Linked DNA regions of Homo sapiens: region 1 is linked to region 2. The links are contacts of gene promoters, found by promoter capture Hi-C in blood cells and fetal thymus (Javierre and others, 2016). All regions are on one chromosome and are shown on one strand. Each heading gives the region's core, a stretch centred on a gene start or on the middle of the fragment in contact. The rest is flanking DNA. Distances are from core to core; before and after follow the strand shown. Region 1 has its middle 39 kb from the start of PPP2CA-DT. Region 2 holds the start of JADE2 (jade family PHD finger 2).

Region 1 (3,797 bases), core at 856-3,355, 260 kb before region 2:
CTAATATGGTGACACCCCATCTCTACTAAAAATACAAAAATTAGCTGGGCATGGTGGTGGGCACCTGTAGTCCCAGCTGCTCAGGAGGCTGAGGCAGGAGAATTGTTTGAACCTGTGAGGTGGATGTTGCAGTGAGCTGCGATTGTGCCACTGCACTCCAGCCTGGGTGACAGAACAACACTCTGTCTCAAAAAAAAAAAAAAAAAAGGAAGAACAAAGTAGAAGCATGTGTCTAACCAGACGTCAGGATTCATGTTAAAGTTGTAATTACAAAGTAGAAGCATGTGTCTAACCAGACATCAAGATTCACGTTAAAGATGTAATTAAGACACCATTGAATTGGTGTAAGGGTAAAAGACCAGTAGAACTGAATAAAGAGCATAAAAAACCCACACATGTACAGAAACTTAATATATGATGGTATTGTCAATAAATGGTATTGACAATAAGTGGGGAAAGGATAGACTCTTAAATAAATGAGACTGGGACAATTGGTAAGCCACACAGAAAAAGAGGAACTGAATTCTTGCCTCATACCAAGCACAACAAATAATTTTATATGTATTATGGACTTAAATGTAAATGGAAAACTTTAAGACTTTTAGAAGAATATCTTTGGCCGGGCACAGTGGCTCATGCCTGTAATCCCAGCACTTTGGAAGGCCGAGGCCGGCAGATTACCCGAGGTCAGGAGTTTGAAAGAGTCCAGAGGTTAGTTTTATTTGTATTTGAACTTTATCTAACTGGAAACATATAGTAAATATGTAAATGGGGCCAGGTGTGGTGGCTCACACCTGTAATCCCAGCACTTTGGGAAGCCGAGGTGAGCAGATCACCTGAGGTCAGAAGTTTGAGACCAGCCTGACCAACATGAAGAAACCCCATCTCTACTAAAAATACAAAATTAGCCAGGTGTGGTGGCACATGCCTACAATCCCAGCTACTGGGGAGGCTGAGGCAAGAGAATTGCTTGAACCCAGGAGGCAGAGGTTGCAGTGAGCCAAGATTGTGCCATTGCACTCTAGCCTGGGCAACAAGAGCGAAACTCTGTCTCAAAAAACAAACAAAACAAAACAAACAAACAACAACAAAAAAACCCTAACTTTTAGTGATAGATGTCAGATACTGGTTTCCTTTGATGGGAGGCATTGGCTGAAAGGAGGATAAGGGGAGATGTAATTATTTTATATCTTGCTTTGGGTGGTGGTTACATGGGTATATTTAATTGCCACAATTCATAAAGTTAAATAGTTAGGGCCCTTGCATTTTATTTTATATAAGTTTATGCCTTTAAAAGAAAAAATATTGTTAAGAAAATGAATAGACAGACATACCACGAATTGTGAGATAATATTTGCAGTGCGTATGTGTGACCAAAAACTTGTGTCCTGAATGTATCAGGAACCACTAACAATTAACAACAACAACAAAAATCCAATTTAAAATGTACAAAGTATTTGAACAAACAAAAAAGACATAAGAATGGCCAATAAGCATGTGAAAGGGTGCTCAACATCATTATTCATTAGGAAAATGCAAATTAAAACTTCGATTTAAAAAAAGCTTCAATGGGGTACCATTATACACCCACTAGATTGGATAAAGTGATAATATCAGATGTTTATAAAGCTATGGAGCAACTGGAACTCTCAGTCTTTGCTGGTGAGAGTGTAAACAATTATCTCATCTTAGAGAACTGTTTGGTAATTTCCCCTAAATTTAAACATACATTTTCCCTATGACCACACAATTCTACTTCTAAGTATTTTTCCAAGGATAACGAAGGCATAGATCCACAAAAATACTTGTGCAAGGAAGTTCATGGCAGCCTTAATCATAATAATTGAAACAACTCAAATGTGCATCAACTAGAGATTGGATAAAGAAATTGTATTATAGTCATGCACTAGAACATGACATAGCTATAAGAATGGCAGTAATCTCAGCACTTTTGTAAACTGAGGCAGGATGATCACTTGAGCCCAGGAGTTTGAGAACAGCATGGGTAACATGGCGAGACCCCATCTCTACAAAAAATAAAAAAGTTGGTCAGGCATGATGGGATGCACTTATGGTCCCAGCTACTTGACAGGCTGAGGTGGGAGGATTGCTTGAGCCCAGGAGGTGGAGGCTGCAGCAAGCTGTGTTCATGCCACTGCACTCCAGTCTGGGTGATGCAGCAAGACCCTGTCTCAAAAAAATTTAACAAAAAAAATTTTAAAGAGGAAATTAACAAGTAAGTGTTAACTGCAAACCATGGATGGATTTTGAAAACATTACACAAAACTATATGTATTATATTTCATTTATAGGATTCAAGGTACATGAAGTCCAAGAACAAGAAAAACTAATCTATGATGTCAGAAATCAGAAAATGGTTGCATTGTGGGTAAACAGAAAATTGACTGGCAACCAGCACTGGGGAAATGGAAGTGTTCTATACCTTATTTATGTGGTGTTACGTGGGTGAATACAATTGTCACGACTCATTCAACTGAACACTTAAGATCAATTTAAAAATTCTTTAAAATGAAGGTAAAATAAAGACAGGTACGGGAAAATACAAATGACTGGATTTGTCATCATATAGTCTGCATTAAAAGAAATACTAAAGAGTATTTTTTAGACAGAGAAAAATGACCCCAGTGTAAGCTTGGAAATGCAGGAAGGAATAAATAGTAACAAAAGAGTAAATGTTAACTGTCTAAAACAATAATAATGTATTGTAGGATTAATATATGTAAAATTTAAAAATGACATCATTAGCACATAAGTAGGGAGAGAAGCAAATAGAGTTGAAGTATTCTAAGGTATTTTCATTGTCTAGAAGGAATAAAATACTAATTTTATTAAACTCTGGTAAGTCACAGATGAATGTGACAAAAATCTGCTTATAATTGTCAAATATATATATCTCATAACACACTGATAAAGGGAAATATTGAATAATAAAAATACTCAATAATTTTTTTAAAAAAGCAGTAACAGAGAAAGAAAGGAAAACAGAATACATGGAACAAATAGAAAGTAAATAGCGAGGTGGTAGATATAAAACCAAACATATAAGTAACTATATTAAATAAAAAAGGTTCCAAATAAAATGCTCCAAAAAAAGAAATAGATGGTCATACTGGATAGAAAATTTAAAACCTAACCATATATTGCTTATAAAATAACCATTTATATGAAATATAAATATGTAGGAATATTCAAAGTAAAAGAAAACAAAAATAGTTACTATTCAAACTCTAAACAAAACAGGTAGCTATATGAATAACACATAAAGTAGACTGTAATGTGAGAAGCATTACTAGAAATGAGACATATTTCATAATGAAAAAAAGGTACGATTCACCAGAAAAATGCAACAAACCTAAACTGAATGCACCTAATAACATAGCCTTAAATGTATATTAAAAACTGATAGAATTAAATGAAGAAGTAGACAAATCCACAATGATGCTTGAAGAATTTTAACACATAACCCTCAATAACAAATAAACAGGACACATGCCAAAGAATCAGATATGGTATAAAGATTTAAACAACACAATTAACACTCTTGAACTGACACCTATAGAACATTGCACCCAATAATTACAGAATTATTTTTCAGTTCAAAAATTTACTATATGTTGGCACATAAAACAAATCAATAAATTTCAAAGGAATGAAATAATACAGAGGGATTCTCTGACCACACTCTAATTAAGCTAAATATTAATTTCAAAATTCCCCACGGGCTTGGAAACTGAGAATTACATTTCTAAATAACTCATGGAATAAAGTAGATGTCA
Region 2 (3,743 bases), core at 1,196-3,695:
GAGAACAATTTCACCCTTCCAAAATAAAAAAAACCCACTTAGGTACCAGGCAAGGTGCTAATGAGCACTATGCACCCTGTGCCAGTTGCTGCTTTACACATACCACCTGTATATGTACGTACATACATATATGTGTATGTGCACACATGGCCTCAAGAACCCTCCAACCACCCCATTCTACCCAAAAGGAAAAAGCGATCCAGGGAGATGAATTCACTTGCCCACATCACACAGCTTCTGAAATGCAAAGCCAGGATTAGAACCTAAGTATTTAACTATTTTGTTACACACTCCAAGTCTGCAGCACCTGTTTCCAGACTCTGAGCTTGGCTAGAGAAAAATACCACCAATTGACCACTGAGAGCCACAGCCAGGTCTAACTGGAAGGTAATACCCAGACCATCCTCTTGCCAGACAATTCTCCTCAGACTTTGTGAATGAAGGCCAAGGAAGAAGAAATGTTGCAGTGACTCCCTTTGAGCTCATATTTCTTTCTTGTTGCAAAAACTGCTTATTTCAGCATTCATCATCTCCCTCTTTGTTGGGTAGACAATCCGCCCTGTCGGAGGATTTGTGCTGTTATTATGAGTTTGTTTATTATTAGATTTATTTCTCCTATAAGCAAATGTGTTCACAACATTCCATCGGGGAATCTTCTTAATTGTCACATAAATGTCATCTTATGTAAATTGAATATTTATCTTCCCATGGAAGGGGGTGGAGGGGAAAGGAAGAATAAACAATCTTCAGTCTTGGAGAGGGAAGGCGACTCCGGTGTCCATTCACAACTCACCCACGTGCCTTCAAAGCCAAAGGTGAGCTGAAAAATTATTGGATAATCTGAGGGGCAGCCGACCATGAGGGGGAAGAAAAAGTTGGCCACGATGCTTTGGGGATGTTGGGCCAGGCTCCCCACAACCTCCTCCCGAGGCCAGACCCACCCCCTCCCCAGCTAGAGGCATTCCGAGGAGGTTGGAGCTTGACCCCCGATTCCTCCCCAACCAGGAGGCCAGTCCTTCTCCTTCCTCGAGAGAAGGTGAGCTCGGCGGGCGCAGCGGGTTGGGTGGGTGTGGCCCGCGGCTCCGGGAACAGACCCAAGGCCCCGCCACCGCCGGCTAGCAGCCCGACAGCCCGCCCGCCTGGCGAGCGCAGGCTCTTCTTCCAGAAACTGCGAGGATCCGAGCGTACTGTTTGTGCACCACAAGGTCAAGTCGGGAAGTGGAGCCGGAGGAGGAGGGGCGAGGAGGCGAAGGGTGGGGAGAGGGGCGCCCCGCTTCCTCGCCATGTGCCAGCCTTTGGAAGTTACCCCTCGGTTTTTAACCCTTTCGGGGTAATGGGAAGGAAGAGCAAGGAGGAAGGGGTCGCCCCGGGGCAAAATCCTGCTGGGGCCAGGATGTGCAACCACCCACCCACCCGCTCATCACTGCCTTCTCCACCCCCCGGAAATGCGGGGCAGCGCTAGGCGCCAGGAGGCACCCGGGAGGGGGGAGGGGGCGACGAGCCCAATGGGGACCCTCTCTACGGACCGCCCCTCTTTTCTTGAGGTCGCCTACAATTTCAAGTTCCCCCGCCCGGAATGTTAGTTTTCCATTTGGAGTGGGTGCGGGGAGGAGGGCCGCGCCCCCTCCCCAAGACTCGCGTTCGCCCCTCCACTCCCCTCCTGCCAGCACTTTCTGCTCACTTCTGGTGCTGCAAAACGCCACGCAATTTATTCGATTCGCATTTTAAAACCAGCGATTCAGAAGCAGGGCCTAGGGCGAGGGTCTTCCAGCGCTGGAGCCCCGGGGGGCGGGGTGCTCAGTGCAAACCTCGTTCCCTCCGCGAGTGTCGCCTCCAGGCTGTTATTTGCAAAGAAACGTCTTTTTGACGCAGGGAGAAATGGCAAATTTTAAGTACGTCATTAATATGGCGCCAAAAGATTTTTTTAAGTATAAGCTCGCTTTTTTTTTTTTTTAAGGTTGCGGGGGGCGCCGCCCGGGTCTGGGGCGCGTAGGGGGCGGGGTGTGAGCAGAAAGTGTGAGTGAAAGAGTGGAGGGGCGGGGTATGTGTGTGAGTGTGTGAAGTGTGAGCAGACCTGATGGGACTTGCACGGGCGCAGCCGCCGCTCGGGCCCGGCCCTGGGGACAGGGCGGGCTAGGGGCGCCCCAGAGTCCATGGGGAGTCCGGGCCCAGGGTGCCAGCAGGCGTGGTGGTGGGGCTGCGAGGGAGGGCACCCTTCCCCCACGGGGCCCGCAACGCTACCTGGACTCCCCGCCGGAGCCAAACAACTGGGCGGGGGGTTGGGGGGGCGGCGACGGGGGTGTCGGGAGCGGAGATCCGAGTGAATAAGAAAAAAGTGGCTACTCCCCCTCCCTCGCTCCTCCTGCCCGCCCCCACCCCACCCCCACCCCAACACATTTTTTTTTTCTAAAGAGATCACAAGGAAGTCTTGGTTTAAAAAGAAACAGAAACATACACAGGGGGTTGGTGAATGGTGCCGACCGCGGCCATCGCAGTTGGAGGCTATTTTTTGGGGGGGGTGAGTAGCGTCCATGGAGTTACTTTGCGCCCACTCCTAGCGGCACCGGCTTAGGTCCTGCGGGCCGACCGTCCCCGGCGGGGGGCGTGGGGCCTGGGACGCCGCGGGCCCGGCCGCCTCCCTCGCCGCGACCCCGGATGGATGCGCGCCCCCCGCCCTCCCGCGCCGGCCCCAGGAGCTCCCGGCTTCGGGAGCATCCTTCCCGCGCCGGTCCCTGCAGCGGCGCGTAGCCGAGGGCAGCGCCCGTCAGGGGGGCACCGCGGAGCAAGGTAAGATCCAGCCCCCGGCGGATGGGCCCTGCGCATCTCCACGACGTTATTTGGCGTTTTTGCAACAGATCTGCCAGCGCTCTTCGCTCCCTCGCTCTCTCTTGCTCGCTCGCTCCCTCTCTCTCCTGCTGGCTGCCTGTTCTAGGAAGCCAGCGCGGAGAGGGGGGGGATGCACAGCACAGGGGAGAGAGATTGCGCATGTTGGTCAGTCGTGTTTTAAAGAGTACAGTGCGGGGAGGCTGAGAGGGGCGCATGCAACAACAACTTTTGGAAGGGTGAGCTTGGCGACCTTCTTTATTAATGACTGCGGCAAAGCGCCCCCGGGCCGGCGAGGGGGCGCGGGCGGGCGGGGGCGCGCCAGGGCTGCAACTTCCCCGCGGGCTCCGGCCGGGCGTAGGGGCTGCGGCGGGAGATGGGTACGGTGGGGAGGTCGAGCGGCCCGGGCGGGGGCTCCGAGAACCTGGAGCTATCTGCCCTCCTGTCTCCCCGAGTTTCATTTTGTTGATACGCAGCACGTCCGGGCGCCGAACCGGGCTGAGCCGGTGCACATGACCTCGCGCTGGGCTCACGTGCAGCCGGTCCGGTCCCAGACACCTTCCGGGGGCCACCGCCTCCGCCCTGTCGCCCCCTCTCCCGGCCCGGTGCACGCGGGCGCTGCACGCGGGGGCAGCATGCTCGGCTCCTGGGGTTGGAGGCTCTGCACAAATTAGACAGTTTTTTTGGAGGGGCGGGGGACACCCTTTCCAGGTGAGTGTGGAGGGTGCGGAGCCTCGGCGCCAGGGGTGAGGACTGGGGTCGGGGGCAGCCTCCACCTCCGGGGCCGCGCGGTAGTCCAGCTGGGGAGAGGCGCTGGGAGAGTGGAAATGTACCGGCGGCGGCCGGAGCGGCGGGTGCGCGCCCGCGGGGCGACGGCAGGGGGCGTGGCCCTTGTTTACCTTCTCCCAACTCTGCCGGTT

What was found. Contacts are between HindIII fragments. The CHiCAGO score rates a contact against its expected background, and 5 or more counts as called.
Region 1: a fragment that was not itself captured here is called in contact with the fragment with the promoter of JADE2 in region 2 in 1 of 17 cell types (naive CD8 T cells); the score reaches 6.3 in naive CD8 T cells.

Annotation. Positions count from the first base shown.
Region 1 is chr5:134,263,475-134,267,271 of GRCh38, forward strand. No RefSeq gene overlaps it. Among named protein-coding and RNA genes, the nearest start is that of PPP2CA-DT, 39 kb to the left of the region's middle. The HindIII fragment of the contact is 1,089 bases long and covers 1,562-2,650 here.
Region 2 is chr5:134,523,225-134,526,967 of GRCh38, forward strand. JADE2 (jade family PHD finger 2) reads left to right here and starts at 2,446. Exons shown (of 12, transcript NM_001388185.1): 1 at 2,446-2,787. LOC124901070 (a long non-coding RNA gene) reads right to left here and starts at 2,378. Exons shown (of 3, transcript XR_007058942.1): 1 at 2,242-2,378; 2 at 1,682-1,859; 3 at 1-820. RefSeq lists silencers at 1,216-1,535, 2,116-2,165, 2,186-2,405, 2,536-2,615, 2,646-2,905 and 1 more. The HindIII fragment of the contact is 6,085 bases long and covers 1-3,743 here.